2 separate regions of the Homo sapiens genome follow, and region 2 is linked to region 1. Evidence: promoter capture Hi-C in human tissues and cell types (Jung and others, 2019). All regions are on one chromosome and are shown on one strand. Each heading gives the region's core, a stretch centred on a gene start or on the middle of the fragment in contact. The rest is flanking DNA. Distances are from core to core; before and after follow the strand shown.

Region 1 (3,994 bases), core at 1,476-3,975:
TATATATCCTTACAAGAATTAGTAAAATAAGCTATAATGCAGTGCAATCTTACAAATTCCTGTAAGGATTAAAAGAACAATTATTCAGCCGGGTGCGGTGGCTAACGCCTGTAATCCCAGCACTTTGAGAGGCCGAGGCGGGCAGATCACGAGGTCAGGAGATCAAGACCATCCTGGCTAACACGGTGAAACCCTCATCTCTACTTAAAAAAAAAAAAAAAGTACAAAAAATTAGCTGGGCATGGTGGCAGGCGCCTGTAGTCCCAGCTACTTGGGAAGCTGAGGCAGGAGAATAGCGTGAACCTGGGAGGCGGAGCTTGCAGTGAACCGAGATCGTGCCACTGCACTCCAGCCTGGGTGACATTCCAAGACTCCATCTCAAAAAAAAAAAAAAAAAAAAGAACTATTTTTCAGCACTTAACACAGTGACAGGCATAGTAGACACAGGTTGTTATTATTCATGATGATGAGCCTAGCAGAAGAACACTATAATATGAGGTGAATTTTTTTTTCTTGTTTTTAAAGATGTGGTCTCACTCTGTTGCCCAGGCTGGATTGTAGTGATGAAACTGCCACTGTAAAATTATAACTGAGACGGCGAAAGACATCTGACATCACCAACTCCATCTTGCTTCTAACCTCCAAGCTGTCCTTGTTCACTCCTGGGCATAGGCTGAACTAACTTTGGAAAGAACTTTTAGTTTATAGCTTAAAACAAAGATGATAACAGCCCTTTCCCTAAACAAATCCCCTTCTTGCCTAAAAAAATTCTTTTAATCCTTACAGGAATTTGTAAGATTGCAGTGCATTATAGCTTATTTTACTAATTTTGTAAGGATTTAAATATATATAGTTGGCTTCATTTTACAGGTAAGGAAACTGAGATTCAGAGATATTAAATAATTGATCAAAGATCACACAGTTGGTTTGTGCTTTTAGTCATTATATTGTCCCTTGCTGTTGTTATCTGAGCTCCACCAAAACATAAACTATTTCTTTTTTTTTTTTTGCTCTTTCCAACTTTTACTTTAGTTTCAGGGAGTGCATGTGCAGGTTTGGTATACAGGCTAACAGATTAGCGAAAAGATTAGACATTATGGTTTAGGAGTCATGCAGCTGGAGGCTACAAGATTCTGACCCTCCCCAAATTGCTCCTGGGGATAACAACTCTATTGTAAAGCCTAACATCAGTGTTTGAGATATTTTGCAGACCCTGCAAAATGGATCAGCTGGAACCACCCAGATAGGTAAACTGGCTCATCTGATCTTGTGGTCCCAACCCAGGAACTAAGATTCTGACCCTTCCCAAATTGCTCCTGGGAATAACACTATTGTAAAGCCTAACATCAGTGCTTGAGATACTTTGCAGAGCCTGCAAAATGGATCAGCTGGCACCACCCAGATCGGCAAACTGGCTCATCTGATCTTGTGGCCCCGACCCAGGAACTGAGGCAGTACAAGACAGCTTCCACTCCCTGTGATTTCATCTCTGACCCAACCAATCAGCACTTCCGACTTACTGGCTGTCTCCCCACGCACCAAATTGTCCTTAAAAACTCTGATCCCCGAATGCTATGGGATACTGATTTGAGTAATAATAAAACTCTGGTCTCCTGCACAGCCAGCTCTGCGTGAATTACTCTTTATTGTAATTCCCCAGTGTTGATCAATCGGCTCTGTCCAGGCAGCGGGCAAAGTGAACCCTTTGGGAGCTTACAGCAAGTGACCCAATCACAGCTCACTGCAGCATCAAACTCAAGTGGTCCTCCCGCCTCAGCCTCCCAAATAGCCAGAATTACAGGCGCAAGCCACAGAGGTCAGCAAGGGGAAATTTTTAGGAGCACAGACATTGGGCACAGAAAACGACTACGTACCTTCAGAATGAGGCAGGAAAGTCTTAAAAGTCAAAGTCTTAGAAATGTCTTACAGCCTTAAAAATCAATTAAGTCTTAGACCTGGGGGGGTCAAATCTCAAATACGACAGCAGCCAGAAATTTATTACATCAGAGGTTGGGAATCACTTGGGAAACTTCAAAGGCAGATCAATGGCCAGTTCCCAGCCCCAAACTCTTTAGAATTTCTAGGAGTAGGTCTCCAGCGTGAGTATGGTTTTACCTCTCCTAAAGTGATTCTAATGTGCAGCCAGGGTTGAGAACCACTGCCATTCTAAACCAATGAGGGCAAGATGGCCAAACAGAAGTGTCATTTCCTATTTAGTCTCCTTGATTGTTGCAATGGAATTCCTCAGCTTCAAAAGTCCAGAATTTCATGTGAGATTTCCAAATTCTAAAATGTTGGCAAGTAATTAAAAGAAATTTTTTTAAAAAAGATTGGGATCAAAGAAAACATGGATTCGGGCCCTACTGAGTGTCACTTCGTAACCTTTTTGCAGTTCAACCTCAGGTTTGAACAACCTGATTCTGAGAAGTTAAATAATTTGTCCACGGTTACACAGCCAGTAGGAATAAGAGTTAGGACTAAAACCCAGTCCCTCTGAATTTAATTAATGTTCCTTCCATGAGAAGGAAGGAACACCTGAAGATGCGTTTTAAAAATGGGTAACAGAAACGCGAAGTTACCGCCAGCCATGATCGCAACCACGCATGCGCCTACTACTGCCGGCGAGGCGGAAGAGCAGGGAAGGTTAAAGGCGATGAATTACGACCTCTGCTGGCGACGCTCACGACTCCTGCCGTAAAGGCCGTGTGTGGCGCCTGCGCACCTCCTTTCCCTTTCGGATTCCCGACGCTGTGGTTGCTGTAAGGGGTCCTCCCTGCGCCACACGGCCGTCGCCATGGTGAAGCTGAGCAAAGAGGCCAAGCAGAGACTACAGCAGCTCTTCAAGGGGAGCCAGTTTGCCATTCGCTGGGGCTTTATCCCTCTTGTGATTTACCTGGGTCAGTGGGAGAAGAACCGGGAAAGTGACTGGAGGGAAGAGGGTGGCGGAGACAGCAGCCCCATTTTTGGCCGTCGGGGGAGGGAGAGAAAAATAGGGGACACTGCCGTGCACGGCCCCTGAGGCTGTCTGGTCAAGTGGGGCCGATCTAACCTGAGTTCGAGTTCCCGTTCTATCGCTTTATAGTTGCATGGTCTTTAAGCAGTCTTGCAATCCCTCCTTTTCTATTTTTGCATCCTTAAAGTGGAGGTCATATTTCTCGGGATTGTAGGGAGGGTTGGATGACCCCAGTGGATGTGAAAGTCACTAATTCACTCTCTAGCACTAGGTGGTTCTCGGGGTGTTTTTCCTCACCGCTCCATGTGGTCCTAAGTGGAAAGAGTCCTGTTCAGGGAATCGAGACACCTCGTGAAAGTACCACTGCCATGAAAGCATGATTATAATAATAGTCGTTGGATGCCTCTGCTTTCTTACCTGTACGATGAAGGGTTTGGATGATTTCTATTACTGCCCCCATTTTACAGGTGAGGAAACAGCCGTAGAGAAACTTTTTTGCCAAGGTCGCACAGCTATGCTGACTGAGGGAGTTAGGGGCTCAGGCAGTGGGGCATCAGAGCCCATAGTCTTAACCATTATAGCGCACTTAAAGGATTTGGGGTTTTTTTGGTTTTTGTTTTTAAGACAGAGTCTCGCTCTGTCACCCAGACTGGAGTGCAGTGGCGCTATCCCGGCTCATTGCAACCTTCCCCTCCTGTGCTCTAGCGATCCTTCCACCTCAGTCTCCCAAGTAGCTGGGACTACAGGCTGGTGCCAACAGGCTCGGTCACTTACTGCAAGGATTTGTTAATATTTTTCAGTTAGGGTTGCAGACTGGGACCTATTCTGTAGTTTTTTCTTTTCTTTTCTGTCTTTTTTTTTCCTTTTTTCCTTTTTGAGACAGTCGCTGTGTGCCCAGGCTGGAGTGTAGTGGCGCGATCTCTGCCCACCGCAATCTCTGCCTCTCGGGATCAAGCGATCCTTCCCCCTTAGCCTCCCGAGTAGCTGTGATTACAGACTTGCAGCCACCGCTCGCGGCTAATGTTTATATTTTTAGTAGAG
Region 2 (3,723 bases), core at 1,045-3,544, 79 kb before region 1:
GTTGCCCAGGCTGGAGTGCAGTGGCACGATCTCAGCTCACTACAAGCTCCGCCTCCTGGATTCATGCCATTCTCCTGCCTCAGCCTCCCAAGTAGCTGAGACTACAGGCACCTGCCACCACGCCCGGCTAAGTTTTTGTACTTTTAGTAGAGATGGGGTTTCACTGTGTTAGCCAAGATGGTCTCGATCTCCTGACCTCGTGATCCGCCCGCCTTGGCCTTCCAAAGTGCTGGGATTACAGGCATGAGCCACCATGCCCGGCCCTAAAAACATATTTTTTTAAGGTTTCAATTACTAAGTTTCTTTAGGATTTGATAATTTCTACATTTTTGATATTATTGGTCTTACTATGTTATACATTTTCTTGATTTTGTTTTATCAGCTTGAATATTATGGTATGTTTATAGCTATCTACTTCTAGGTAAAAATAAAATTTGTTAGGGAATATAGGAAAATTATAATCCCTTCATTTTTCCTTCAACATTTCATAATAAAAATTGTGAAATGTTACAGAAATGTTGATTCCTAGTGCTTATTCCTTTATCCAGTGGTTGTCCACCCCTCTCTGGCCAGGTTATGATATTAAAAAATGTCTTCACATGTTGACAAATTTCCTTTAAGAGGGAAACATCATGAACCACTACTCATGAGGGATATTAGTATGTCATTTTAAAAAAGAATTTGACATTAGAGTTATTGTCTCATAACATGAGTAGACAGTGTTTCCTCCTGCTTTATTTTCTGAAAATTTTACATGAGATCAGTATTATTTCTTCCTTGATTGATAAAATTTACCAGTGAAACTAAGTGTCCTAGAATTTACTTTGTGGGTAGGTTGCTGGTAACAAATTAATTTCTTTTAACAGAGATAGAGCTATTCAGATTTTCTGTTTCTTCTTGTGTCAATTTTGATAAGTTTTATTTTTCTAGGAGTTTGTTCATTTATGTAAGTTGTCAAATTTGTTGGCATAAGGTTTTTCATAATATTCTCTCACAATCCTTTTAATATTGGTTGAATCTATAGTTATAATTGTTTTTAAATTCTTGGTTATTTGGAGTCTCTTTTTTTTTCATTACAAGAAGTTTGTCAATTTTAGATTGTTTCCAGTTTAGGGCTATTACAAATAAAGCTGTTATGAACATTTGTGTACAAGTTTGTATGCTTGCATGTTTTCATTTCGCTTGAATATATGCCTATGAGTGAAATTACTGGATTATGTGGAAACTATGTTCAACCTTTTGAGAAACCACTGAACTGTTTTCCACAGTGGCTGCTTTATTTTATACTCCCCCACTCCAGGAGTGTATAAGGGATGCAATTCCTTCACCTCCTTTCCAAAATTTATCAACACTGCCTTTTTTATTCTAGCTATTCTAGTATGTGTGAGGTGGTATCTTACTGTGGTTTTGATTTGCATTTTCCTAATGACTAATGTTATTGAATACCTTTTTATGTGCTTACTGGTCATTTGTATACCTTCCTTGGCTGCTGCAGTTTAATTTATCATTTCTTCCATTTATGGTCTATGCTTTAGTGTTCCTATCTAAGAAACTATGTTTATCTCAAGGTCACTAAAATTTTATCCTAGTTGTCTTCTGGAAGTTTTATAGTTTTAGATTTTATATTAGTCTATTATACAGTTTGCCTTAATTTTTGTACATGATTTGAAGAAAGGGTCAGTGTTCATTTTTTCCCCATATAGATATGCAATAGTTCCAGCACCATTTGTTGAAAATATTTTTTTCCATTGAATTTCCTTGACACTTTAAAAAAAATAACCATATATATGGCATATTTCTGGACTGTCTATCCAGTTCTCCTGGTCTATATATCTACCGTTTGCTAAGGCCAAACTGGTTTGTTACTGTAGCTCAGGGCTTCTCAGTTTCAGATTATTTAAATTTTGGTTCCAATAATTCTTTGTTGGTAATATTTTCAAAGAACTAGCTTTTGGTTTTGTTAATTTTCTCTATTGTGTGTTTTCTATTTTTCTGACTTTTGTTGTAATTAATTTTATTTACTTTCTGATACTTACTTTGGGTTTTTTTTTAGCTTCTTAAAATAATCATTAATTTAAAACTATCAAATTGTTTTCTAATACAAGCATTTAAAACTATACATTTCTCCCTAAGCACTGCTTTACCCACATCCCATATATTTTTATGTGTTCTATTTTTGTCATTGTGTTTAACATAATTTCTAAATTTCCTTCTGATTTCTCCTTTGACTTATAACATTTGAAAGCTTGCATTTAATTTCCAAATATTTGAGGTTTCCTAGATATGTTACTTTTATTGATACGATTTGTAATTTAATTCTATTGTGGTTGGACAATATGCTCTACATGCTATCAATTCCTTAGAAGTTATTGAGATTTGTTTTATGGCTCAGCATATGGTCTGTCTTGGTGAATGTACCATGTGTACTTGAAGAGGATATGTATTCTGCAATTGTTGGATGTAATATTATACAAATGCTGATTATATCAAGATATTTTATAGTATTATTCAAATCTACTATGTCCTGAATTTTGTCTAGTTGTTCTATCAATTGATAAAAGAAGTATATTAAAATATTTTACTATGATTGCAGAATTATCTGTTTCTCCCTTTAATTTGGTTAATTTTTTTTCTTCATGTATTTTGAGGTTCTGTTATTAGGCACATATTTATAATTTATATGTCTTTCTGATGGATTGCTCCTTTTATATTTCTGATATATTCTCTTTTATCTCTGGTAATATTCTTGTCTTATTGTTTATTTAATCTGATATCAATATATCCTCTTCAGCCTTCTTAGGCTTACTTATTTTTCCAAATACCATCTTAGTTGGGGCTAGAGCTTCAACAAATGAATTTTGTGGAAACACAAACATTTAGTCCCTAAAAATGTTCTTAGGATTTGTATTTGAAATGAGTTTCTTGTAGACAGTATATAGTTAGGCTATGTTCTTTATCCACTCTGCCAATCTTCGTCTTCTAATTGGTGTGTTTACACCAGTTACATTTAATGTAATTATTGATATGTCAGGGCTTAAATCTTTCATTCTATTTTTTTCTATTTTTAGTTTTCTGTTAGTTTCTTCTTTTTTGTTTATTTTTTCTGACTTCCTCTGGGTTGCTTAACATTTTTTAAAAAGAATTATTGGTGTATATTTTTCTTTCCTTTTTTTTTTTTTTTTTTTTTTTTTGAGACAGGGTCTCACTCCCATTGTCCAGGCTGTAGTGCAGTGGTGCAATCATGGCTTACTGCCCCCTCAACTTCCTGGGCTCAAGCGATCCTCCCACCTCAGCCTTCCAAATAGCTGGGACTACAGGCACAAACCACCACACCTGGGTAACTTTTTGTATTTTTAGTAGAGATGAGGTTTTGGCATGTTGCCCAGGGTAGTCTCAAACTCCTGGGCTCAAGGAATCTGCCTGCCTCAGCCTCCCAAATTGCTTACAGGCATGAACCACCATGCCAGGCCAGTATGTTTTTCGTTGCATGTACTTTCAAACCTATTTGTGTCTTCTTACTTAGAGAAGACACAAATAAAGATGGTATCATGTACAGAGCATATAGTTGAGTCTTGCTTTTTTCTACTCACTCTGATAATTTTTGCTTTTTAATGTGTTTAGATCATTAACATTTAATGTAATTATTGATATGGCTGAATCTAGGTCTATCATTTCATCATCTCATCATCTGTACCCTTCATTTTTTGTTCTTCTGTTCCCATC

What was found. Contacts are between HindIII fragments. The study calls those that stand out against the background at their distance.
Region 2: a fragment that was not itself captured here is called in contact with the fragment with the promoter of TOMM7 in region 1 in 4 of the 25 tissues and cell types used here (hippocampus, neural progenitor cells, spleen and 1 more).

The regions. Positions count from the first base shown.
Region 1 is chr7:22,821,580-22,825,573 of GRCh38, reverse strand. It overlaps TOMM7 (translocase of outer mitochondrial membrane 7), which reads left to right and starts at 2,725. Exons shown (of 3, transcript NM_019059.5): 1 at 2,725-2,897. The coding sequence starts at 2,795. LOC112267993 (a long non-coding RNA gene) reads right to left here and starts at 2,617. Exons shown (of 3, transcript XR_002956543.2): 1 at 1,875-2,617. RefSeq lists enhancers at 2,495-2,704, 2,735-2,814, 2,484-3,244. The HindIII fragment of the contact is 34,135 bases long and covers 1-3,994 here.
Region 2 is chr7:22,900,690-22,904,412 of GRCh38, reverse strand. It overlaps a transcript of HYCC1 not described here. Among named protein-coding and RNA genes, the nearest start is that of SNORD93, 46 kb to the right of the region's middle. The HindIII fragment of the contact is 7,280 bases long and covers 1-3,723 here.